Linked DNA regions of Homo sapiens: regions 1, 2, 4, 5, 6 and 7 are each linked to region 3. Evidence: promoter capture Hi-C in 16 types of primary human blood cells and fetal thymus (Javierre and others, 2016). All regions are on one chromosome and are shown on one strand. Each heading gives the region's core, a stretch centred on a gene start or on the middle of the fragment in contact. The rest is flanking DNA. Distances are from core to core; before and after follow the strand shown.

Region 1 (3,186 bases), core at 1-2,500, 460 kb after region 3:
GTGAAGTCAAGTGTAACTTCCGGCAGGAAGCATCCCGGCTCACTTTGGAAAACAGGGTGAGAAGTCTTCTAACTTGGTGATAAAGACTGTCTGTGTGCAGATGTTGCTGAAAGGGGGGACATGCCACCTAAAGCATATGATTAACATCTATAGACCAAAAGTCCTTCCATCAGAGCAGTCTGTTTTCTTATCCCAAAAGACAGGTGGTCTCTGAGGTTGGCTTTGGGAAGGCCTTGGGGACTTACAGGCCCGCCTGGGGAGGGTGAAGGAGGAGAGACAGAGAGGTGCAGGCCGTAGTTCCCCAGCACTATCAGTGCACGGCACCACCCAGGATGGAGTCACTGTGCTCTGGAACACACTGAGGATAGCAAGGCCTACGTGTGAGTGCTTTACCCAGCAAAACTCACCCCATATAAGTGCCCATGCTTTCTTCTGGGGGTATGGCCTTCCTACAATTTTTAGAGTCAAAATGTTCTTCTATGAAATGATCATGATGTCGATGGAAGGCTTAAAAACTTTTTAAAAGTGTTTAAGGTCTTTTCTGAGTTTTAAATGCCCTTACCAAAATGAAATCGGGTAACCTTACATCAATTCCCAGCAATTATTTTGAAATTGTGATGCTGTGTGGAACCCAGAAGACTGAGAAGTGCTGAAGTGACAGGCCACTTTCCTAGGAGCTGGGACCCTCTCGGGCCCCTTCGAAACCTGAGAGCTTCCAGCTTCCAAGAGGGTAACGCAGGAGGGCTGACGAGTCCAGTGGGTCAGTGTGGACATGCCCACGTACCCTTCTCCCTGCTGACAGGGCCCCCATTTCCAATCTCACAGGAAAACCTTGATAGAGGAAAAACATATTTTGAGTGTCAGGGTTTAACTTTGAAGAGTGGTTACATCCAAAAAGAGAAATTCCAGGAGTTTGACATTTAATAGGAAGTAACAAATTCCAATCAGTGACACCTACATGACAGCTGCCTTTTCTGAGGTGGATACAACTTTCTCAGAGACTGGAATCCTCGTGTTACAACAGAGAAGCAACCGCCTGTTGTCCATGTGTGAGGCTGCCTTGCCTTGCCTTGCCTCCTGTGGGCCCCTGGGATCTCAATGGAGTCAGCGGTCAGGGAGAAGCTACATGGGTGGGTCATGTGTGTGCTGCGCATGTCATCCCATGTGATCCTTTACTCTGACTGTCCCTGTGCATTGTGACGGATTTATGAGTTCGTTCCTGGTGCCCTGGAGCACAGCTCGGTCCTGGCGCCCTCTTCTGGAGCTCCTCCAAGTGTCTGGCTCTGCTCCCCACAGGTGCGCTGAGCTAAGGAGCTGGCAGGCCTGACATGCTCATTTCAATAGCTCTTTCTGAACCCGGAGTAGCCTCACTGTTACATAGAAGCAGACGGACACACAACAAGAGTATCATCTCTATACATTAGCCGGCGGATTCTACCCACAAATGAGACCTGATCTGTATTAGTTTGCCAGGGCTGCTGTAACAAATGACCACAAACCAGGTGCTTTAAAACAACAGAAATGTGTTCTCTCAATTATGGAGGTCAGAAGTCTGAAGTCAAGGTGTCAGCAGGGCACACTCCTCCGAAGTCTCTAAGGAAAACCCTTCCTTGCCTCTCCCAGCTTCTAGAGGGCTCCAGGCATTCCTTGGTTTGGAACAGTGTAACTCCAGCCTCTGCCTCTCTGCACCTGGCCTTCTCCCTGTCTCTGTGTTCTTTTCCATCTGTTATAAGGACACCTGCATTGGATTTACAGCCCACCCTAAATTGTAGTAGCCACCTCTCATACTGACCCTTAGCTTACCACAGCTGCAAAGACCCTATTTCCATATAAAGGCACATTCTGGAGTTTGGGTTGGACATGAATTTCAAGGTGACACTGTTCAAACCACTATGTGATGCTTTGAGTCAAAGAAATTTCTTTTTTTTTTCCAGACTCTTTTGTCACTGAATTCTTATTAAGAGATTAAAAAAAAACTTTTAGTAATCATTTCACTATTTATCAAAGAAATTCAAAATCAAAACTAGGTACTATTTTTGCCTGTCAAATTAACAGAGACCTGGGCCTGGCACAGTGGCTCATGCCTGTAATCCCAGCACTTTAAGATGTCATGGCAGAAGTATGACTTGAGGCCAGGAGTTCAACCAGCCAGGGCAACGTAGTGAGACCCCATCTCTACAAGGAAAACTTTAAAAATATATATATAGTGGTGCATGCCTGTAGCTCTGGCTACTCAGGAGGCTGAGGCAAGAGGACTGCTTGAGCCCAGGAGATTGAGGCTGCAGTGAGCTATGATCACACTACTGCACTCCAGCCTGGATGACAGAGCAAAATCCTGTCTCTAAAAATACTACTACTAATAATAATAATAATTAATAGAGATCTTATGCTGCTGGAGAGAACATCTTGAAATGGGCACTGTCATACATGGTTGCTGGGAATATAAATTGGTATAAACTTTCTTGAGGGCTTATTTGAAGGTATGGATCATGAACCTTTGGAAAGTACATTCCCTTTGACTCAGTAACACAACTTGTAAGGTTCTATCCTAAGTAAATACTTGAACATGTGGACGAGATTTTTGTTCAGAGTGATCATCTTAGTGTTATTAATCATAGAGAAAAAAAGCAACCCAAAGGAGAGAAATGCATACCTAACAATAGAGCAAAGGTTAAATTGTTGTATGATATAATATGACTTGGCTGTTAAAATGATGGTTTGAGTATATTATCAATGACATGGGAAAACGTCTGCAGTATAACTAGAGAAAAATGTAGGATTTGAAATTTTGCATGTAATATGATCCCAATTTTATAAAATGTACATTTACCATATTGGGAAAAAAGGAATGAAATCAAAATGTGAAGAGTGGTTTTTTTCTGGGTTATGGGTTGATGGGTGACCCATTTTATTAGATATATTATAAGATGGGCTTGAATTGGAGGGAGGAAGCTGTACTGACACCGCCACTTCTAAGGTCAATAGAGTTCCTAACATGTCTAGCCAGGGACACAGAATGGTGGCAGGGAGAGAGGTGGCCGCACAGAGTAGAAACAGCACAATGTCCCTCGGCCCCAAGAGTCCCTAGAGGGCACACAGCTGCAGTGACCCTGCATGGTGGGTCTTTCTGGGTCAGAGAAGCCTGAATTCTATATGTGTCAAATGCTCAGATGTGGAAGAACTTAA
Region 2 (3,680 bases), core at 432-2,931, 490 kb after region 3:
AAGTGCTAGGATTACAGGCGTGTGCCACCGCGCCCGGCTGACCCTTTTAATTTTTAAGAGTGTTCAATCCGAGATGAATCATTTGAAGTATTTTTATATGTATATCTATTTAAAACTAATATATTATTAAAGCTTAATTGCCATGCCGTTTATCTTCTCTGAAAGAACTTCAAATCTTACCTGCCAACATATTCACCATAATTTTTTTATTTTTTAATACCTTTCATACAATAACTTTTTTAAAACAACCTCAGATTGAAAAAGCAACCTAAATTACTTTCGCTCTCTAATCAGCATTTCAATGTATTTATTTTTAAATTTTCTCAAAAAGTAACTAAAAAATTGTGTCGGACCCTACTTTTGAGAAATCTACGTTTCCCAAGTTTTATGGGAACTGGCTATTCCTTGTCCCGGCACACCTTCTCATTCCTTCCTTTCAGAGCCTAAAACCTCATTTGATAAGCACTCCTAGTCTCTGGCCTGTGGATCCAGTGCTATTCTGTCACCAACCTAAGAATCCCAATTGCACCTTCTGTTTCTGACAGTCACAGGTGACAGCTGTGATTCTATAATACAGACTGGTGTCTTAGAGGTAGGAATAATACATGATTATGAAGCATCACCCTGCTAATACATAATAATGTCTTTTTATATTATAAGTGATTGAGTTTAGTTCATTTCAATACATTGTACATGAAAAAATGAAAAGTAGAACTTTGTAATACTTTAATCAATAAAATTAATTACCAAATGAATTGGGTCAGATTCTTTCATTGCGAGGAGATGACATGTCTCTTAAGTGTACAAGTTGTATGCCTTTCTTTACGGTCATACTGAAAGATGCTAGAATCTTTATAGATTCATAATATCTCATTTAAAGTATATTAAAATGTTTAGAGAAGAAGTAAATATGTCATAAGTGCTGGCTTAGGCTGTGTCTCCAGGGCGCTTCCACACTGTCAGAATGAGGGGCTACTTGGCAGAGAATTGGCAGGGTTTCTGATCCTGAGCTGCGGCCTCCATGCCCTTTCTAGACCTTCCCCACACCATGAGGAGCCATCACTGTTGGTTTTCGGCTTCCATAACTCAGGATTTATGCCTGTTTTATAGCACTTACCCTGGACTGGAAGCCAGAAATGCTGCCCATTTCCTCTGTAGGCCTGTGAGCCCCAGAGGGCAGGTGCCACATCCTCCTCATCCCTGCCTTCATCCTACTGCTGATGAGGTGGGAAGAGAACTGAAGGAGCAAAGTCCCGTTGGAGGACTGTGTGTGTGTGGTGGGGAGTCAACCATGGGAAAAAGTAGGTCATGTTTGGGGACAGGGAGACCTGTGGAGGCTGAGGAGTTTATGTGTGGAAAAATGGGGAAAGGGAGGCACTCATCCCACAGTCTTGATCAGTTCTACAAAGCTGACAGTGGCAAGGAGACCAAAATAGAGAAATGTTAAGAACATGTGGCCCAGGTGAATGTGAGGGCTGCTCAGTGAGTGGGCGCAGACACAGAGGTCAAACCTGCCAAGGCCTCCCTCCACAGAGGGGCTGGGCAGGTTCCAGGGGTGAGTGAGGGATGCAGATGGCAGTGCGTGCCCAGCAGGGAGCATGGAAGTGCTGTGGAGGAAGGAAGCAAGCTGAGCAGCACTCCAGAGAAGATAAGGAGATTAGCCAGTGGGAGACGTGCTTCACACCTCAAGCTGCGCGCTGGTCCTCACCTCTCACCATCTGCTCTGTGGCTCCCAGTGCTGACTCTGGAAGGTATGTGCATGCTGACATTCGGTTAAAATACTCCAGCTTTTGAAATGCTCAGAAAAGCATCCAGATGAGTACAGGGCACAGTGTTAGCAGGTCTTTCTGTGCGGTGGGAGCATGGGTGAGGGGTTTTGTTGTTGTTAATCCGTAGAATCTAATTTTTCTACAATACACATGAATTTATTTTGAAATAGTAAATTTCAAATATTTCAAATTGAAATATTTCAATATTTTTTACATTAATATTGGCATCAGGAAAGAGATTAAGCATACTTAAAATCACTAAGTCAGTTTTAAAATTTGATCCAGGTGACACATGGCAACATAAGCCTCTGAGTACAGCTTATGGGGTTAGAAAGAGGTTTTTAGTTGTAAGTCTGAGATACATCCACATTGTGTGTATCAGTTATTTTTTATTCTATGCTCATTTCACAGTTTCGTCTGTGACTGGTGAACATTTGGGTCTTTCAAGTTTAGGCCTTCTATGAATAGCTGCTATGACATTTATGTTTTTTTTTTTTTTTTTTTTTTTTTTTTTTTTTTTTTTTTAAGGAAATAAGCATTATTTTCTGTGGTGTATGTATGCACGAGTAGAATTGCCTGGTCATAGACTATATCCGTTTCACTTTAGTAGCTCCTACCAACCAGTTTTCTACAGTGGTTATACCGACTTATACTCCCACTAGCAGAGAAAGGCAGTTCCAGTCTCTGCATCCTTGCCCACACTTTGTGTTGTCAGGCTTTTTAGGTTTTCTGATGGCTAAGTAGTTGTATCACATCGTAGTTTTACTTTGTATTTCTATGATGACTAATGATAATGAGCACCTTTTTATATGTTTATTGACCATATAAGTATCCTCATTTGTGAAGTGACTACACAAGCCTTTTGTCCATTTTAAAAATAATCTTTGGGCTGGGCGCGGTGGCTCATGCCTGTAATCCCAGCACTTTGGGAGGCTGAGGCGGGCAGATCATGAGGTCAGGAGATTGAGAGCATCCTGGTTAACACGGTGAAACCCCATCTCTACTAAAAATACAAGAAATTAGCCGGGTGAGGTGGCGGGCGCCTGTATTCCCAGATATTTGGGAGGCTGAGGCAGGAGAATGGCATGAACCTGGGAGGCGGAGCTTACAGTGAGCCGAGATTGCGCCACTGCACTCCAACCTGGGCGACAGAGCAAGACTCTGTCTAAAAAAAAAAAAAAAAAAATTTATTGAGATATGATGTCCACGTTTTGTTTCATGTTTTAAAACCCATCATTTTAAAACATATATTTCAGTGTTTTTTAAGTTTATTTACAAGGATTTGCAACCATTGCCACTGACTCCAGAGTATTTTCATCACCCCGAAAAAGAAATCCCATACCCCTTAAGCAGCCACTCACTCTCAGCTCCCTCCTTCCCCCTTATTCTCTCTTCCCTCCACCTCGCAACTACTCATCTGCTTCATGTCTCTATGGATTTGCTGATCCTGTACACTTCATATAAATAAATCATACAATATGTGGCCTTTTGTGTCTGGCTTCTGTCATAGGATAGCGTTTTTAAGGTTTGACCATGTTGTAGCATGTGTCAGAACGTCATTCTTTTTTATTGCTGAATAGCAGTCTACTGGAGGGATAGACATTTTGTTTTTCATTTGTCGGTTGGTGGACACTTGGGTTGCTTTCACTTTTGGCTAATAATGCTGCCATGAAAATTAGTATGTACATTTTTATGTGAACATATATTTTCTTTTTTTTTGTTCTGAGACGGAGTCTCACTGCATTGCCCAGGCTGGATTTCAGTGGCGCGATCTTGGCTCACTGCAACCTCCATCCCCCAAGTTCAAGCAGTTCTCATGTCTCAGCCTCCCAAGTAGCTGGGATTACAGGCACCTGCCACCACGCCTGGCTAATTTTTGTATAGTAGATATGGGGTTTCACCATGTTGCCC
Region 3 (3,246 bases), core at 219-2,718:
ATTTTTTAAAAACTACATAATACAGTATTCAATAATATCAAAGTCAAATCCACTGGGATTTAACATTTGTAGCATTTTATAGATTAAAGAACTGTTTCCATTTGTCAGTTTCATCGTCATGATGCCAGAACATTTCAGAGAAAATGAAATGTTACCCTCCTGAATGTTCTCTCCGCTCTGATTAGATACAATCGTGGAGTTAAGGTTAACAATTTCAGTTGTACATGTTATTTTACTGTACATATCTAAGCACTAGAAAATGTTACTTTTTAAATATTTCATGCCTTTTTCATAAGAACTTTACCTGAGGCCAAAAAAATGGAACTGCCAATCTTGCAGTTTATAAAACTCTTCTGATGTGAAAATAATAGACTCATTGTAAAAAAAATTTTAAAACAGAAGGGCACAAATAAAAAAAATCCCCTTAGACTTGTCCTAATACTTTCCTGTGATCCTTTTATGCAAAATTATATCTAAAAAAAAAACTTTTTCTAATGAAACCAAAGAGCCTTGCAAATTTTTACTTGTCTCCATTTGGGCTCATGCCCCATATGTACTTTGTCTATAGACTGAGTAGCTAATAGCTGCAGCGCTTGTTAGGATTGGGTTTTTTTTTAAGTACAGCAGATTCCTGTCATCTGTTTGTGTTTAAATGACGACAACATCACAACATGAAATGCCATCATGTCACATTGCTATAGCACAACAACAAAATTACAGCTCCCCAACAATAACATGCTGTCAAAGTGTCCTCCTGCCCATGAGTCAGTGTTTTAGAAGTTATGAAGATTATTTTTAGCACAGCGAGTGTCTTGGAAGCTTGGGTTCTGAATCCTACTAAAATCCTTAGTGATTTGGGAAAATCTAGGGTGGGGGTGGGCTTCCTGTTCTTAAATTCTCCCACTCCCTGACCCGCATAGCTGCCCACCCCCCGTCCCGGTCACATTAAACCCGGGTTCCATTATGCGCTGCAATCCACTTGGGGCTCGATCACAACTCTGTGCCAGCATCCCGGGAGGAGGAGGAGGAGGAGGAGGAGGGGGGGAAGGAGGGGGAGGGGGGAGGAGGAGGAGGAGGAGGAGGAGGAGGAGGAGGAGGAGACGACGACTATAATTATCCTCCACGTCTGGGGCAGGCCTTTGGATGACATCTCCCCAGTTACCCTGCGCTCTAATAGCGCAGCTCCGATTCCTGGTCTCAGAATCCAGGCGCGCCTCTGCCGGCTGGGAGCGCAACCGAAGTGCCTGGGACGTCTCGGGCTTCCGGGACTCTGCTGGTGTCTCCCAGCCGCCATCTCCAGCGCCCTCGCACCCGCCGGGCACCTGCACCGAAAACCCGGCCCCAAACTAGCGCCCCGGGGCGAGCGGCGGCATTGCCATAGTAACCGGGCGCCAGGGCCGCGGAGGCCGCCGGGGAGGAAGTGACGACCGGGGTGGGTTGGCTGTTGTTGGGACACGTGACCTAGGCAGTGTTTTGACAGGGCAAACAGCAGAGAAAGAACTGGCCGAGCGAGGGGGACGGGGAGCCGGGGCGCCAGAGCTAGAGACAGCGGGCGGGCAAGGAGCTGGCAGAGGCGCTGGGCAAGAGGGCCGGCCGGGGCTACGGGCGGGGGAAGCCCGGGGGTCGCGGGGCTCGGGTGCCAGTCAGGCAGGGCGGAGGGGCTGAGCGCAGGGAGCGGAGCGAGGCGGTGGCTGAGGCGCGGGTGGATGGCCACAGGGGCGCCGGGGAGCCGCTTCGGGCTGGTCGTCTCGGGTCCCCACGGTCACCTGAGGCAGCCGCGGGGGCCGCTGCGCTCCATACTCCGCTCCCGCTGGCCCTGCGCCTCTCGGAGCCTGGGGTCTGAGGTGGGAGTGTGATGTGAGCTGCTGGGCGAGCGGTGGAGAGAAGTGCCAAGAGGAGGCGGGATTGGGACGGGAGAGGAGAGCGAGTTAGTCAGCAGAGGTCGGCCGAGGGAGCGGAGGAGCCGGCCAGCTCGAGAGCGCCATGAAAACAACTCTCCAGCGGGGAGAGGGGCAGACGCGGCGCTCGGTGCGGCGGGGCTGAAGGAAATCCGGGGCCGCGGCGGGACGGAAGGGGTTGTGCAGAGCAGGGGGCGAGCACAGGCTGTAAACACCTCCCCCGGAGCCGGCCGCGGAGGACTGGTTGGGAGTTGGTAGGGTCGCCCCGGGACAGCCCGGAAGAGTTCGTTTGGGGCTGGGGGCTGGGCGGGAGGAGGTGACTCGGGTTTCTGTGTAAACTTGGCCGCGGTTGCCGCAGGAAGGCTAGCCAGAGGGTAATTACACAGGTGAGGCCCGGCGGGGCGGGCGGAGGGCTCGGGAGGCGCAGGGGACTGGAAGAGTTGGCTGCGCCCAGGCACCAGGTGGAAGAATTTCCATACCAGCCCTGCGGAGGTGCCTCTGTTTCCAGAGGCGTTTTTGTACGAAGGGGTTAGTTTGTGTTGCTCAAATCTTTTTCTTCTTCTTGCCTGTACCTCCAGGTTATAAATAGATCCTGTTTTGGTTCAGAGACTGTGTCAGAAGGACACATTGGCCTGGAGAGCACAGAGGCAGGGAAGGGGGTGCTCGATCCGGAGGAGATGGGGGAGGCGGTGCAGAGAGTTTTGCTTTTTTCAGACCAGCCGAGGGTGCTGTCACCGCAGTTGGTGCCAGGAAGAGGCCTAACTTAACAGTAGTTTACTTGCAAGGTCCGGGTATTAGAATAGGGCCAGATTAATTTTATTTTTGTCTCTTTCAGCATTTTGAAAGCGAAGCAGAAGCCGTAGAATCAGCGGCGAGCCTGTTGAAAGAACCCACAGGTGCATTTCACAGCACTCTGGGCGAAAATTGGATGTGAAAATGAAGCCAGACCGAGGTAAATGATTTGTTTAAGTAGGGCTTGTTCCCCCACCCCCTTCTTTTCTATGCCTCAATTTAGAAGTGTTAACCTAATTCTGCAGTAGGATCAACTATTTCTGTATCATATGTGATTATCTGTTTTTGTGACAGATTCCAGCTGGTGAGGTAGAGAAAGGCATATGGAAGAGAAGGTTAAGCGTTTTTACAAAAGTGCTTCTGAAGCACTAGCTTCAAGAGAGATTCTAGTGTATCTCAAAATGAAAGTAAAGAATGGTATTTGTATCTGTTGCCACAATACAGGTATCATTTTAGAGTTGTACTTGCTCGTTTTTAGGTAGTCAATCTAACTTCAACTTTCAAGAAGTTCATAAGCTTTTTAAACTTGAATGTGAACTTGATAAAATGAAGAGAA
Region 4 (3,391 bases), core at 96-2,595, 510 kb after region 3:
TCACAAACATTTTCTCCCTTCTGTAGTTTGTCCCTTCACTCTGATGTAGTTTATTTTGCTATGCAGAGGCCCTTTGTTTTAATTAGATCCCATTTATCAATTTTTGCTTGTGTTGCAATTACTTTCGGCATTTTTGTCATGAAATCTTTGGCCCATGACTATGTCCTGAATGGTATTGCCTAGGTTTTCCTCTTTACCTCTTTTCTTTTCTTTCTTTTCTTTTTTTCTTTTTCTCTTCTCTTCTTTTCTTTTTTTTTTTTTTTTTTTTTTTTTGAGACAGAGTCTCGCTCTTGTCACCCAGGCTGGAGTGCAATGGCGTGATCTCTGCTCACTGCAACCTCCGCCTCCTGGGTTCAGGCTCTTCTCCTGCCTCAGCCTTCTGAATAGCTGGGATTACAGGTGCCCACCACCATGCCCAGCTAATTTTTTGTATTTTTAGTAGAGACGGGGTTTCACCATGTTGGCCAGGCTGGTTTCAAACTCCTGACTTCAGGTGATCTGCCTGCCTCAGTCACCCAGGCTGGAGTGCAGTGGTGCGATCTCGGCTCACTGCAGCCTCCGCCTCCTAGGTTCAAGTGATTCAAGTGCCTCAGCCTCCCAAGTAGCTGGGACTACAAGCATACGCCACCACACCTAATTTTTGTATTTTTAGTAGAGACGGGGTTTCACCATGTTGGCCAGGCTGGTCTCAAACTCCTAACCTCAAGTGATTCGTCCACACTGGCCTCCCAAAATGCTGGGATTACAGGCGTGAGCCCCCACATCCGGCCTGGTATTGCCTAGATTTTCTTCTAGGGTTTTTATAGTTTGGGGTTTTACATTTAAGTCTTTAATCCATCTTGCATTAATTTTTGTATAAGGTGTAAGGAAGGGGTCCAGTTTCAGTCTTCTGCATATGGCTAGCCAGTTCTCCTAACACTATTTATTAAATAGGGAATCCTTTCCCCATTGCTTGTTTTTGTCAGGTTCATCAAAGATCAGATGATTGTAGGTGTGCAATCTTATTTCTGAGCTCTCCATTCGGTTCCATTGGTCTGTGTGTCTGTTTTTGTACCAGTACCCAGCTGTTTTGGTTACTGTAGCCTTGTAGTATATTTTGAAGTTGGGTAGCCTGATGCCTCCAGCTTTGTTCCTTTTGCTGAGGATTATCTTGGCTATATGGGCTCTCTTTTGGTCCCATGTGAATTTTAAAATAGTTTTTTTTCCTATTCTATGAAGAATGTCAATGGTAGTTTAATGGGAATCGCATTGAATCTATAAATTACTTTGGGCAATATGGCCATTTTCACTGTATTGATTCTTCCTATCCATAAGCATGGAATGTTTTTCCATTTGTTTGTGCCCTCTCTGATCTCCTTGAGCAGTGGTTTGTAGTTCTTGAAGAGATCCTTCACTTACCTTGTTAGCTGTATTCCCAGGTATTTGATTCTCTTTGTAGCAATTATGAATGGGAGTTCACTCATGATTTGGCTCTCTAGTGATTTTTGCACATTGATTTTGGATCCTGAGACTTTGCTGAAGTTGCTTATCAGCTTAGGAAACTTTTGGGCTTAGACGATGGGGTTTTCTAGATATAGGATCTTGTCATCTGCAAACAAAGATAATTTGACTTCTCTCTTCCTATTTGAATACCGTTTGTTTCTTTCTCTTGCCTGATTGCCCTGGCCAGAACTTCCAGTACTATATTGAATAGGAGTGGAGAGAGAGGGCATCTTTGTCTTGTGCCAGTCAAGGGGAATGCTTCCAGCTTTTGCCCATTCAGTATGATATTCGGTGTAGGTTTGTCATATATGGCTCTTACTATTTTGAGATATGTTCCTTCAATACCTTGTTTATTGCGAGTTTTTAACATGAAGGGATGTTGAATTTTATTGAAGGCCTTTTCTCTGTCTTATCGAGGTAATCATGTGGTTTTTTTCTTTAGTTTTTTTTATATGATGAATTATATTTACTGATTTGTGTATGTTGAACCAATGTTGCATCCTGGGGATGAATCCAACTTGATAGTGTTGGATAAGTTTTTTGATGTGATGCTGGATTCAGTTTCCCAGTATTGGGAATCATTTATTGATGATTTTTGCACCAATGTTCATCAGGGATATTGGCCTGAAGTTTTCTTTTTTCTTTTCTTTTTTTTTTTGAAATGGAGTCTTGCTCCTGTTGCCCAGTCTGGAGTGCAATGGCATGATCTTGACTCACTGCAACCTCTACCTCCTGCGTTCAGGCGATTCTCCTGCCTCAGCCTCCTGAGTAGCTAAGATTACAGGCGCCTGCCACCACGCCCGGCTAATTTTTTGTATTTTTAGTAGAGACAGAGTTTCACCATGTTGGCCAGGCTGGTCTCAAAGTCCTGACCTCAGGTGATCCACCCGCCTCAGCCTCCCAAAGTGCTGGGATTACAGACGTGGGCCACTGCACTCGGCCAAAGTTTTCTTTTTTTGTTGTGTCTCTGCCAGGTTTTGATATCAGGATGATGCTGACCTGATAAAATGAGTTAGGGAGGAGTCCCTCCTTTTCAATTGTTTAGAATAGTTTCAGAAGAAAGGGTACCAGCCCCTCTTTGTACCTCTGGTAAAATTCAGCTGTAAATCTGTCTGGTCCTGGACTTTTTTTTGTTGGTAGGCTATTTATTACTGCCTTAATTTCAGACCTCATTATTGGCCTATTCAGGGATTCCATTTCTTCCTGGTTCAGTCTTGGGAGGGTGTATGCATTTAGGAATTTATCTATTTCTTCTAGATTTTCTAGTTTATGTGCATAGAGGTATTTGTAGTATTCTCTGATGGTTGTTTGTATTTCTGTGGGGTCAGTGGTGATATCCCCTTTATCATTTCTGATTGTGTCTATTTGATTCTCCTCTCTTTTATTAATCTATCTAGTGGTCTATCTATTTTATTAATTTTTTCAAAAAACCAGCTCCTGGATTCATTGATTTTTTTGAAGGGTTTTTCATGTCTCTATCTCCTTTAGTTCCACTCTGATCTTGGTTATTTCTTGTCTTCTGCTAGCTTTGGGGTTTTTTGCTCTTGGTTCTCTAATTCTTTTAGCTGTGATGTTAGGTTGTTGATTTGAGATCTTTCTAGCTTTCTAATATAGACATTTAGTGCTAAAATTTCCCTCTTAACACTGCTTTAGCTGTGTCCTAGAGATTCTGGTACGTTGTCTCTTAGTTCTCATTAGTTTCAAAGAACTTCTTGATTTCTACCATAATTTCATTATTTACCTAGGAGTCATTCAGGAACAGGTTGTTCAATTTCCATGTAGTCGTGTGGTTTTGAATGAGTTTCTTAATCTTGAGTTCTAATTTGATTTCGCTGTGGTCTGAGAGACTGTTATGATTTCAGTTCTTTTGCATTTACTAAGGAGAGTTTTACTTCCAATTATGTGATCA
Region 5 (3,251 bases), core at 585-3,084, 410 kb after region 3:
GCTCACATCTATAATCCTGCACTTTGGGAGGCTGAGGTGGGTGGATTGCTTGAGCTCAGAAGTTCCAGACCAGCCTGGGCAACATGATGAAACCCCATCTCTACCAAAAATACAAAAAATTAGCCAGGTATAGTGGCACATGTCTGTAGTCCCAGCTACTCAAGAGGCTGAGGTAGGAAGATTGCTTGAGTCAGGAGGTGGAGGTTGCAGTGAGCCAAGATTGCACCACTGCACTCCAGCCTGGATGACAGAGCAGGACCCCATCTCAAAATAAAAGTTATCAAGAGCCAGTGCCAAGTTAAATGCCCAGTGGATAATTTTGTGTAAATATTTAGGGTTTGTCTCCTCTACTAGACTGCACACTCCATGAAGGCGGGACTGTATCTATTTGGTTTACCTTTGTTTACCGAGCGCATGGCACATAGTAGGTGCTCAGTAAAGACATGTTGGCAGGCAGCATGATGACCTGGGTCATCTAGAAACAGGGTGCTCAGGAGAGGGTGGGGAGGGGCAGAGGAGAGATGAAATTGAAGAACAGAAGTAAAAAGCAAAAATCCTGCCCAGAGAGTGTGAGGGATGGGAAGGAGCAGTTTTTTGGTTGAGTGGAAAGGTTGAGTAGGGAAGCAGTAAGGAGTAGGGATTGGAATAAAGGTTGGATGAAAGATGTGAACTTCTAGTTGAGCATCATAGGTATTTGGGGCCTGAATGAGTTGAGGCACCTCATATTCTCTCATTTAATCCTCCCTACTCTGTAAGTGTTCTGGTCAGTCTGGGCTGCTATTATAATAATAAATATAATGTACTTTAGTATAATATACTTTAGTGTCATTGACCAGGTGGCTTATAAACAACAGAAATTTATTTCTCGCAATTCTGGAGGCTGGAAGTCCAAGATCAGGGGGCTAGCAGGGGTCAGGTTCTAGAGAGGCTTCTCTTCTGGGTTGCAGACTGCTGTCTTCTCACGGTACCCTTACATGGCAGAAAGAGAGCAAGAGAGGTCTCTGGGATCCCTATTATGTAGGCATTAAAATCCCACTCCCAGGGGCTCCACCCTCGTGACATCATTACTTCCCAAAGGCCCACCTTATGATACCAATACATAGGGTTAGGATTTCAGCATGAAGATTTTGAGAGGACACAAACATTCAGTCCATAACAGTGAGTTGCTTATGATTCTCATATTACAGATAGGGAAATTAAGACCTGGAAAGATGAATTAACTTTTTTGTTTGTCTGTTTTTGAGACAGGGTCTCGCTAAGTTACCCAGGCTGGAGTGCGGTGGTGCAATCATAGCTCACTGCAGCCTCCAACTCCTGGGCTCCAGCAATCCTCCCATCTCAGCTTTCTGAGTAGCTAGGACTACAGGCACACACCACCATGCCTGTCTAATTTTTTTTTTATGTTTTGTAGAGACGGGGGTCTCACTGTGTTGCCTCATCTGGTCTCAAACTCCTGGCCTCAAGTGAATTTCTTGCCTCAGCCTCCTGAAGTGCTGGGATTACAGGCGTGAGCCGCTGCACCTAGCCAGTGAATTAACTTTTAAGACATTACACAGATAGCAAAGATAGAACCCAGGACCCTGAAACATCAGAACCTGTGCTCTTTCTGGTCCTCCCCAGTATCTGCCAGTGGGACCAAGGAGAACCTTGAGCAGCAGGCTCATGTTCTGATTTGTCATGTTCCCTGCCAGCGTGGGGTTGCTTTCTTTCCCCAGACTTCCCTCTGCCAATCAGACCTTCCCCTAGGGTACAGGATTGCCTTTTACTAAAAACCCCTCCAATAATTTTGAGGCAAAAATCTTTTAATGTTGTTATTTCAATAGAGTCTTATTTTTTTTAGGCCGTTGGAAATGCCAAGACCACCCGCAATGACAATAGTAGTCGGTTTGGGAAATACACAGAAATCAGTTTTGATGAACAAAATCAAATTATAGGAGCCAACATGAGCACTTACCTCCTGGAGAAATCCAGAGTTGTCTTTCAAGTAAGTATTAAATTTCCTTTTCCCCAACTTTTTGAGCATTATTTACATTTACATACTTATTATACATACTCAGGCAAGCTACACTATGCTGTGAGTTGAAGAGTAGGGTTTTCTTGTCTTTCATTTGCAGTTTGGATTCTTTTTTCTGTTTATTAAAAATTGATGGATGAATAGGTGTAATATCAGGTGAGTTGTATGTCTGCAGGAAAAGGTTAATGACTTTTTAATTTGGGGGATTTACAAAATCCTTATAGTTTAAAAAGCAAGTATCTCTTTCTAGAGTACGAAAACTGTTTGAAATAGGCTAAGCTGACAGACTGGCTTTCCTATCAGGAAGGGAATGGGATCAGAGCTATTGAGGGGGTTTTAAAAGAAAGGCTTTTCTGCCAGTAAATGGAGAAATTTCTCATCGTTTTGGCCCAGGAGGAGAGCAACAGAAAGCCTTGTATTGCAGGAAGTTTGTAAAAATTTCACTAGGATGAGTTACGCCATTCCCATTTCATAGGACGTTTTCATTTAATAACACTTTCTCTGGGTTGCTCATTACTTGGAAGGCCATCTCAGGCCACCCAGTTCTCAGCTGAGAGGAAGGGCCTGCTTGTGAACTGGCCAGATCACATCCCAGACAGAGAATTATCCATGCGGATTAGATATCTAGGACCCTCTAGTTAAAAACCTGGCATTTTTGCTTGTAAGGATTTGGTGTAATTTTGAGGACATTTCTTTATCTTACAGTCGGAAAATGAACGAAATTACCACATTTTCTATCAGCTTTGTGCATCTGCACAGCAGTCGGAATTTAAACATCTTAAATTGGGTATGTGATGGATCGTGTATGAAAGGGTCTCTCTTTTATGGAGGGCTTAAATTCTAGGTTAACTTTCTTCTTATAGTAATATATTTGTTTTAAGTATTTGCCCAAAGATACAAGATTCTTTGGTTTCAGGGACAGAATTGGTGCATCTAATTAAGGGGATGGATTAGGGCCGGGGGGATGAGTTTAGAGAGAGGGGGCACTTGTAAGACTGAGGGTTATTTTTAAAGCTCATTGGGCCTGGCGTGATGGCTCACACCTGTAATCCCAGCACTTTGGGAGGCTGAGGAGGGTGGATCACCTGAGGTCAGGAGTTAGAGACCAGCCTGGCCAACATGGCAAAACCCTGTCTCTACTAAAAATACAAAAATTAACCGGGTGTGGTGGCACGCACCTGTAGTCCCAGCTACTTGGGAGGCTGAGGCAGAAGAATTGCTTGAACCCGGGAGATGG
Region 6 (3,320 bases), core at 652-3,151, 380 kb after region 3:
ATTAAAGACTTGGGCTAGACATCTATTCAACATTGTTTTTTATTTCTGAGTCAAGTAGATCATGTCTATTCCTACTAACAGCTGTAGAGTTTTACATGTATATACTATTTCTTTTTTTATTTTTCTCTGCTGTCTGCCATGTATATACTATTTTATTTATTCCCCTATTGATATTTAGATGCTTCCAACTCTTTGATAAATAACTATGTTGTGATGAACATCTACTTAACTGTCTCTTTGGGTGACTGTGAGAATTTTTCTGCCTACATTTATTTTCATAACTATTCTCAAATTGCTCTCCAGGATGGCAGTATATTCCCACCAGTTATGTAAGCAAAAAAAGTTTTTATTTTTTTTATTTATTTTTTTTTTTTTTTTGAGACGGAGTCTCGCTCTGTCGCCCAGGCTGGAGTGCAGTGGCGCAATCTCGGCTCACTGCAGGCTCCGCCCCCTGGGGTTCACGCCATTCTCCTGCCTCAGCCTCCCGAGTAGCTGGGACTACAGGCGCCCGCCACCTCGCCCGGCTAATTTTTTGTATTTTTAGTAGAGACGGGGTTTCACCGTGTTAGCCAGGATGGTCTCGATCTCCTGACCTCGTGATCCGCCCGCCTCGGCCTCCCAAAGTGCTGGGATTACAGGCGTGAGCCACCGCGCCCGGCCAAGTTTTTATTTTCTCACATCCTAGGCAGTATCTGAGATTGTCTAACCTAAATGTTTTTGCCAATATGATGGGTAAAAAGCAATATCTCATTGTTGTTTTCATTTGTATTTATCTGATTACTGCTAAAGTTGACATCTCCTTGTATGCTAACAAGCCATTTAAGTGTCCCCATCTGTGAATTGCCTATTAATTTTTGTCAGTTTTAAAAATTGGATTTCTTTTCTTTAACCGATTAACAATTCTTCTATATGGAAACTACTATAACCCAACATTTTAAAGATATTATCCCTCTTTTATTCCTAATAATTTCCCGGTTTTAAGTTTTAATCGTGAATCCATCTGGAGCTTATTTTTGGATGCAGTGTTTGCCACGGATCTGCTTTTATTGTTTTTCCATATAACGGGCCCATCTAATAAATATTATTTTATTTCCCTATCTGGTCCTTAAGGCTACCGTATAATGTAGGGCCCTGCTGGGGGGCTCCAGCATGTTCCATTACTCACGTATCCGTTCTCACGCAAGTGTCACACTGTTTTAATGACTACTGCTTTGTTATGTCCCTAAATATATGGCAGGACAAATCTCTCCTCTTTGAGAATTGTCTTAGTTATACAGGGCTTTTATTCTATATGAAATATAGAATCATTGTACAATTCTCCAAAAGTTCTGTAGGATTCTGACGCCAATATATTAGGCATATATATTGATTTGGGTAGAAGTGACACCTTGACCATATTAAATATTCCCAGCCAGGAAAATGGCATGTCTCCCGTTTACCTGGGCCTTCTTTTAAGCTCTTTAAGAGAATTTTAAACATTTTCTCCACAAAGGCCAAGGGCATTTTTGCGAGTGTAATCTCTGGATACTTTATATTTTCACTAATATTGTAAATATCTTGTATTGCATAGACAATGCTCATATAAAGGACCATTACTTATTTTTGTATTTGATTTTGAATACGATGACCTTGCTGGACTCTTAACACATTTCTTTGTGTTCAGTACGTTGATTCCCTTGGGTCTTCCATTTAAATGGTCGTATCCTCTGCTCTTTGAGGAGCTAACACTCGGGCCGGGCAGCCTCCGGATGCATCTGTTCCTGCCTGGCAGCGCGCCCCGGGCCCCAACCTTCTCCACCCGCGCTCCCGCCAGGTGCAGCCGCCCGGCCCCGGCCAATGGCAGCGCCGACTAGCCGGGCCAAGCTTGGAGGGACCAATCCCGCCGCTGCCCCCTCCCCTCGCCGCCAACTCGGGAACGGGAACAGGAGGCCGTTGGAAAACTTTGGGCAAGATGGCCCGGCGGTGATTTCCGCGGCGGTCTCTCCTGCGCCCGGCCTCTGCGGCGCAGGCCCAGCCCCCGAGCCTCGCACGTTCGGCAGCCCCGGCCTGGCCCCGGCCCCTCCTGCCCATGGCGGTGGCCGAGCTGTACACGCAGGTAGGAGGGTCCGCTGGGCTCCTGGGAGCGCTGTGGGGGAGCCGGCCCTGCTAACGCTGACTCGACCTGGCGCCCGGGCCACACCTGCCACACCTGCGCACCTGACACGGCAGGGCGGGCGGGCGCGCGCTGGGGGCCGCGGAGGCGCCGCGGAGGGGCCACGGGGACCGGGGACACGAGCGAGCGTCGCCCCTCCAGGGCCCCGGCGTGCTCCGTCCCTGCCCGCGGGTAAGCCCCCTCCTGGCTCCGCTGCGCCTGGGTGCCCTGTGGGTGGGAAGACCCTGTGGGAGGGGCCGCCCCCTCCGCCGCTCCGGCCTCGGGGCCTAGAATCCCCAGTGCCCAGGGGTCGCGCGTGCGTCCCCATCTCCCGGGACTGGAGCGCCTCGGTCCCTTCCTACCACACCACGGGTGGAATCAGAGTTGCCCATGCGGACGTAGGAAGCTGAGACGCCGGCCAGTCTCCTGGCCCCTCCTGGGACCCCCTTGAACGAGCTGGCATAGAAGCTTATGGCCGCAGTGTTCGGGCTGCTTTCTAGAATTCTGTGTCTTCAAAGTGCGTGAACGTGCATGTAGGCTCATCAGAAGCTGAAGCAGCCTGGGTCACAGGCTTGAGGGCACTGCAGTGGCACCAAGCGCTTGGGGAGCCCAGGGGCCACGAGGTGCAGTCGTAGGCTCTTTGCCTAACATCTGTACTGTTAGCAACAGTACAAACACCACAGTTTCTAAAGCGCCTTTCATATACCCTGACTCTGGGAAACACTAGAGCATTCCTCAGAAGCTTCCTTTCTGCTGGCTGGGGCTCCACCTCTTACCTCGGAAGGGCAGCGTTCCCACATATGTCCCAAACCCTCTGAGATGGGCTTGGGTAATTATTTGGATAAAGAGTGTGACAGTGTTAGCACTTTTGAAAAAAAAAATCCATTTGAATAGCCATAAAGCCTGATCCTCCTATACACCAGTTGGGGAAATCTAGAGACCTCAGTATTCAGACGAGTGGAACTAGAATCCATCCATTTCCCCGGACACATGCTCTAGCTTTCTACTTTAAAAGATGCTTTTGCTGTAGATAGAAAAGATAGTTATTTAAAAAATCATGTTTCAATGGTTTAAGCAAACGTTTTTCTTCTACTTTGATTACTTAGTAACAGTCCGGACACAAAGCAACCGAACTGTAGTTTCTCCTCTATTGCATCTCCATTAACTGGAGTTCTAAATGGACAGTGTT
Region 7 (3,582 bases), core at 869-3,368, 350 kb after region 3:
TTGTGGTGTTGTGTTTAAACTGACACCAGAAATTATGTAAAACCAAACAGTTTGAGTCTCCTTTTCTCTTGCATGGAAGAATATACTTTAGAGTTAGTCCCGTGGCTTTCATACTGGATCATGCATATGAAAAACTAGATTATGGGAGATGGCCGTAGCCCTGATCTGTCCAATCACAATCTGACCACTCTTTAGATATCATAGTGTTGCTGGATGGTGGTGACTTCACCTAAACCAGATTTTCAGCGCTGATAGTCCCAGTGTGTGCTGCTGCAGCATGAGGTGGACGGTGTGTCACCAGGCTCCATGCCACATAAGCAAGAGCACTGGCAGGTACTGATGTTCTCTGTGATAACCTCTTCCTGTGGGACTGGCTTCTCAGAACTAACCCAGGAAATTACCCAGAGTGACACAAGAAGCACTACTGACACCTCGTGGAGTCAGCAATATTAAGCTTTCTAATGTTTTTGCATCTGATCTGCATTTTGTTTGACAGCAATCTCAGAACTCAAACTTAATCTGCCCTTAAACAAATCTCTTAACCACTCTCCCTCCCTGTAGATAAAAGGATAAAAAACCTGGTTACTAGCGTGTATCTCCACAGTGGCTGTGGTAACTCATATGTCCCTTTACTTTTTGTTGGATTTCCCACTCAAGTCTCAATTTTGAGATGAAATTGGAGACTTTTTTTTTTAACCTTTAGCATAATTCTCTAGCTGCTGCCCTTGACAATAGTGACTATTTTTAACATCTGAAAGCATTGTAAACCAGTGGTTGTACTTCATTGATTGCAACTTTATAAGTAGAATTTTTAACATTATATTAAAAAGAAATAAAAAATAATAACATTTAGGAAATCATACTACATAGAGATAGTTTATCTGTTCATGATTTCTCTGGGAATGAGGATGGCAGGAGAAAATTAGGTCTTTGCCATATGAGGCCTTTGTGAAAAATAATACATTTTGGACCAAGTGGTATGAAGAAACACTCTTCTACCAGCTATCTGTATGTGTTTTGAATTGATTGTAATGATACATTTAAAGTAAATGTTCTTTTGCTTTTAATGGCTAAAGTCATTGAGCCAAGAGCAAGGGGGAATTGTTTCTGCTCCTTCTGCCCCTTTGTAGGATATTGATTGTTCCTCCTGTGAATTAAAGTCAAAATATGTTTAACCATTTCTGATTAGTATCAATTAATTAACAAATCTGTTAAACCACTTACTTTTTGGACATTTAATCTTATTAAAAAGTAAGCCTTATTACATAAAAAAAAGTTTTGAGTCATGTAAGGTTATTTGATGTTAATTTACAGTTAGGCAGGAGTGGCTTTCAGAGTAAGATGACCATATAATTTTGCCATCTGTTCACCCAATTTTAACAGAAAAAAATTATTTTAAGAGAAGGCAATTAAGTGGCAAATATGGCAAGTTTCGGTTGTTGTAGAATGCATTCAAAATTATAGGAACTTGGAGACCTCTCATGTTTTTTATATGGAAAACATTTTCTCCTCCTTTCTTACTTCTCATAAAGTGGGCCAGATGGAGAACATATCCCCAGGACAGATCATTGATGAACCCATCCGACCAGTCAACATTCCCAGGAAAGAAAAGGATTTCCAAGGGATGCTGGAATACAAGAAGGAGGATGAGCAAAAACTTGTTAAGAACCTGATTCTGGGCAAGTATTTTCTGCATTGGATAAAAGTTCCTTCTGGCACATGGGTTAATGGTGGGAAAAACTAGTCACTAATTTTTGAGATATTCAGCGTAGGTTTCATTAGTCATCATCAGATACCATGTATTCTAGTGCTGCAGTAGTGTTCTGACCACACCAAGCACTTTCAGTCCAACTGCAGGGACACATGCCTCAGACCCACCTACAAGGATTGCTCAAGATCAGGTCTTCTCAGCCCTGGCTGCACATTAGAATCACCTGGAAGCTTTGAACCATACTGATGTATCTCTCTCCCTCTTGCCCAGTTAAATCAAAATCTCTAGAGAGAAGAGCCTGGCAATGTCTAGTACTTTAAAAAAAAAAAAAAGAAAAAGAAAAAACCCTCAAGGCCAGCCTCGGGAAAATAGCAAGACCGCATCTCTCCAAAAAAAAAAAAAAAAAAAAAAAAAATTACCCAGGCGAGGTGGTACATGCCTGTAGTCCTAGCTGCTCAAAAGGCTGAGATGGGAGGATCATGTAAGCCCAGGAGTTCAAGACTACAGTGAGCTGTGATTATACCACTGCACTCCACCCTGGGCTACACAGCAAGAGTCTTTCTCAAAAATAATAAAAAGCTTCTTAAGGGATTCTCAAGTGTAACCACAGTTGAGCACAACTGCTCTAGGCCGTTTAGGTTCCTGAATTTCAGTTTTTCCTTACTCCCCTAGAAAGGTTTGCAACTAAATAGGTCAAGGACGGCAGTGTAATAATAGGGAAGAAACAAAAAAAGGAAAAGATTCTAACAAAGGAAGGAATGGACAGAATAAATGAGATGAGAGTGGAAGAAGCATTTCAGGGCAGCACACTGCCTTTAAGATTGGGTCTGAGCCTGCTGGCTTTGCAAGAAAACTTTTTAGAGGGTGGTGGTAAATGATTAGAGTGTACACACCGTAAGTTGTGAAGTGAAAATCCTAAAAACCTCTCCTTTCAGCCTTTGCACAGCATTCCTCCCGCCAGGTGCCAGGGTGACAGCAGTGTGATTGGCACTTATACCTGATGGAATGTTCCTGGCATTAAACTTAGTACTATATATAGTTGCACAGGTGCTTAAGTTTCAACATGAATTTCATTTAGCAAAAATGTTAAGGAGCCACTGGTTTTTAAGCATAGAATTAACAGATTTATCAATTCAGCAAAGAATTAACAGATTTATCAATTCAGCAAATGTTTAATGAACTCTTATCATGTGCCAAGCATTTTCTAGGTAATGAGCAAAGTGAAGTACCCAGTCTTACAGAGTTTACATTCCAGGGGAGAAATAAAGAAAATAAAATAAACAAATATATGATGGAGTAAAAAGAATAAAGAGTGAAGGCAGGTATACTGGTTTGTGTAAAATTGTCAGGAAACACTCTTTGGTAAGGTGATCTTTGGACAGACACCAAAGGAAGTAAGCTAACAAGTCATGCTAATATCTGAGGAAAGAACATTCAAGGCAGAAAAACAGTAAGCACGTAGGCCCAGGGCAGGGAGCATACCTGGCATGTTTAACCAACAGCAAGGAGACCCATTTGGAGCAGAGTGAGCTGGAGTGGGGAAGGGGAATAGGGCCAGATCCTATGCTATGGTGAGGATTTTGGCTTTTATAAATGCTTGACATGAGAAGCTGCTTGGAGGATTCTCAGAACGAGAGTGACATGATCTGACCAACATTTTCCGAAAGAATGGCCCTGATTGTTGTATGGAAAATGCAGTACTGGGGAGCAAGAGATGAATTAGGGAGGCCAGTTAGGGAGCTATTGCAGCAGCCCAGCAGGAGATGATGGTGGCCTCCATGGGACATCTGTAGCTGGTAGAAGCAGTGAGAAGTAGCTGGATTTTGGATGTATTTTGTAGATAGAGCCAACAGGGTTTGTTGATGGATTGG

The links. Contacts are between HindIII fragments. The CHiCAGO score rates a contact against its expected background, and 5 or more counts as called.
Region 1: a fragment that was not itself captured here is called in contact with the fragment with the promoter of ATOSA in region 3 in 1 of 17 cell types (non-activated CD4 T cells); the score reaches 5.3 in non-activated CD4 T cells.
Region 2: the fragment with the promoter of GNB5 here is called in contact with the fragment with the promoter of ATOSA in region 3 in 8 of 17 cell types (naive B cells, total B cells, naive CD4 T cells and 5 more); the score reaches 7.8 in naive B cells.
Region 4: a contact is called between a fragment that was not itself captured here and the fragment with the promoter of ATOSA in region 3, in 4 of 17 cell types (fetal thymus, naive CD8 T cells, total B cells and 1 more). The highest score is 6.7, in fetal thymus.
Region 5: a contact is called between a fragment that was not itself captured here and the fragment with the promoter of ATOSA in region 3, in 8 of 17 cell types (naive CD8 T cells, M0 macrophages, M1 macrophages and 5 more). The highest score is 6.8, in naive CD8 T cells.
Region 6: a contact is called between the fragment with the promoter of MYO5C here and the fragment with the promoter of ATOSA in region 3, in 15 of 17 cell types (endothelial precursors, M0 macrophages, M1 macrophages and 12 more). The highest score is 23.3, in endothelial precursors.
Region 7: a fragment that was not itself captured here is called in contact with the fragment with the promoter of ATOSA in region 3 in 6 of 17 cell types (total CD8 T cells, non-activated CD4 T cells, naive CD4 T cells and 3 more); the score reaches 10.0 in total CD8 T cells.

The regions. Positions count from the first base shown.
Region 1 is chr15:52,215,389-52,218,574 of GRCh38, reverse strand. It overlaps MYO5C (myosin VC), which reads left to right. Exons shown (of 41, transcript NM_018728.4): 32 at 1-56. Among named protein-coding and RNA genes, the nearest start is that of GNB5, 26 kb to the right of the region's middle. The HindIII fragment of the contact is 5,613 bases long and covers 1-3,186 here.
Region 2 is chr15:52,189,393-52,193,072 of GRCh38, reverse strand. It overlaps GNB5 (G protein subunit beta 5), which reads left to right and starts at 1,681. Exons shown (of 13, transcript NM_016194.4): 1 at 1,681-1,751. It overlaps MYO5C (myosin VC), which reads left to right. Exons shown (of 41, transcript NM_018728.4): 41 at 1-751. All of the region lies in intron 2 of CERNA1 (competing endogenous lncRNA 1 for miR-4707-5p and miR-4767), which reads right to left. RefSeq lists an enhancer at 1,084-1,583. The HindIII fragment of the contact is 7,593 bases long and covers 135-3,680 here.
Region 3 is chr15:52,677,610-52,680,855 of GRCh38, reverse strand. It overlaps ATOSA (atos homolog A), which reads left to right and starts at 1,468. Exons shown (of 13, transcript NM_001385016.1): 1 at 1,468-2,028; 2 at 2,734-2,850. The coding sequence starts at 2,835. It overlaps LOC105370821 (a long non-coding RNA gene), which reads right to left and starts at 1,251. Exons shown (of 4, transcript XR_932255.4): 1 at 1,163-1,251. RefSeq lists a silencer at 1,533-1,852 and enhancers at 2,433-2,572, 2,703-2,772. The HindIII fragment of the contact is 2,387 bases long and covers 822-3,208 here.
Region 4 is chr15:52,166,421-52,169,811 of GRCh38, reverse strand. The region is part of intron 3 of GNB5 (G protein subunit beta 5); the gene reads left to right. Among named protein-coding and RNA genes, the nearest start is that of CERNA1, 12 kb to the left of the region's middle. The HindIII fragment of the contact is 5,734 bases long and covers 1-3,391 here.
Region 5 is chr15:52,271,313-52,274,563 of GRCh38, reverse strand. MYO5C (myosin VC) reads left to right here. Exons shown (of 41, transcript NM_018728.4): 6 at 1,841-1,984; 7 at 2,720-2,801. Among named protein-coding and RNA genes, the nearest start is that of MIR1266, 4.3 kb to the left of the region's middle. The HindIII fragment of the contact is 8,241 bases long and covers 1-3,251 here.
Region 6 is chr15:52,294,385-52,297,704 of GRCh38, reverse strand. MYO5C (myosin VC) reads left to right here and starts at 1,901. Exons shown (of 41, transcript NM_018728.4): 1 at 1,901-2,095. The coding sequence starts at 2,069. LOC105370819 (a long non-coding RNA gene) reads right to left here and starts at 2,821. Exons shown (of 4, transcript XR_932250.3): 1 at 2,494-2,821. RefSeq lists a silencer at 2,078-2,237. The HindIII fragment of the contact is 736 bases long and covers 1,866-2,601 here.
Region 7 is chr15:52,328,450-52,332,031 of GRCh38, reverse strand. MYO5A (myosin VA) reads left to right here. Exons shown (of 42, transcript NM_001382347.1): 35 at 1,533-1,679. Among named protein-coding and RNA genes, the nearest start is that of MYO5C, 34 kb to the right of the region's middle. RefSeq lists an enhancer at 155-284. The HindIII fragment of the contact is 349 bases long and covers 1,944-2,292 here.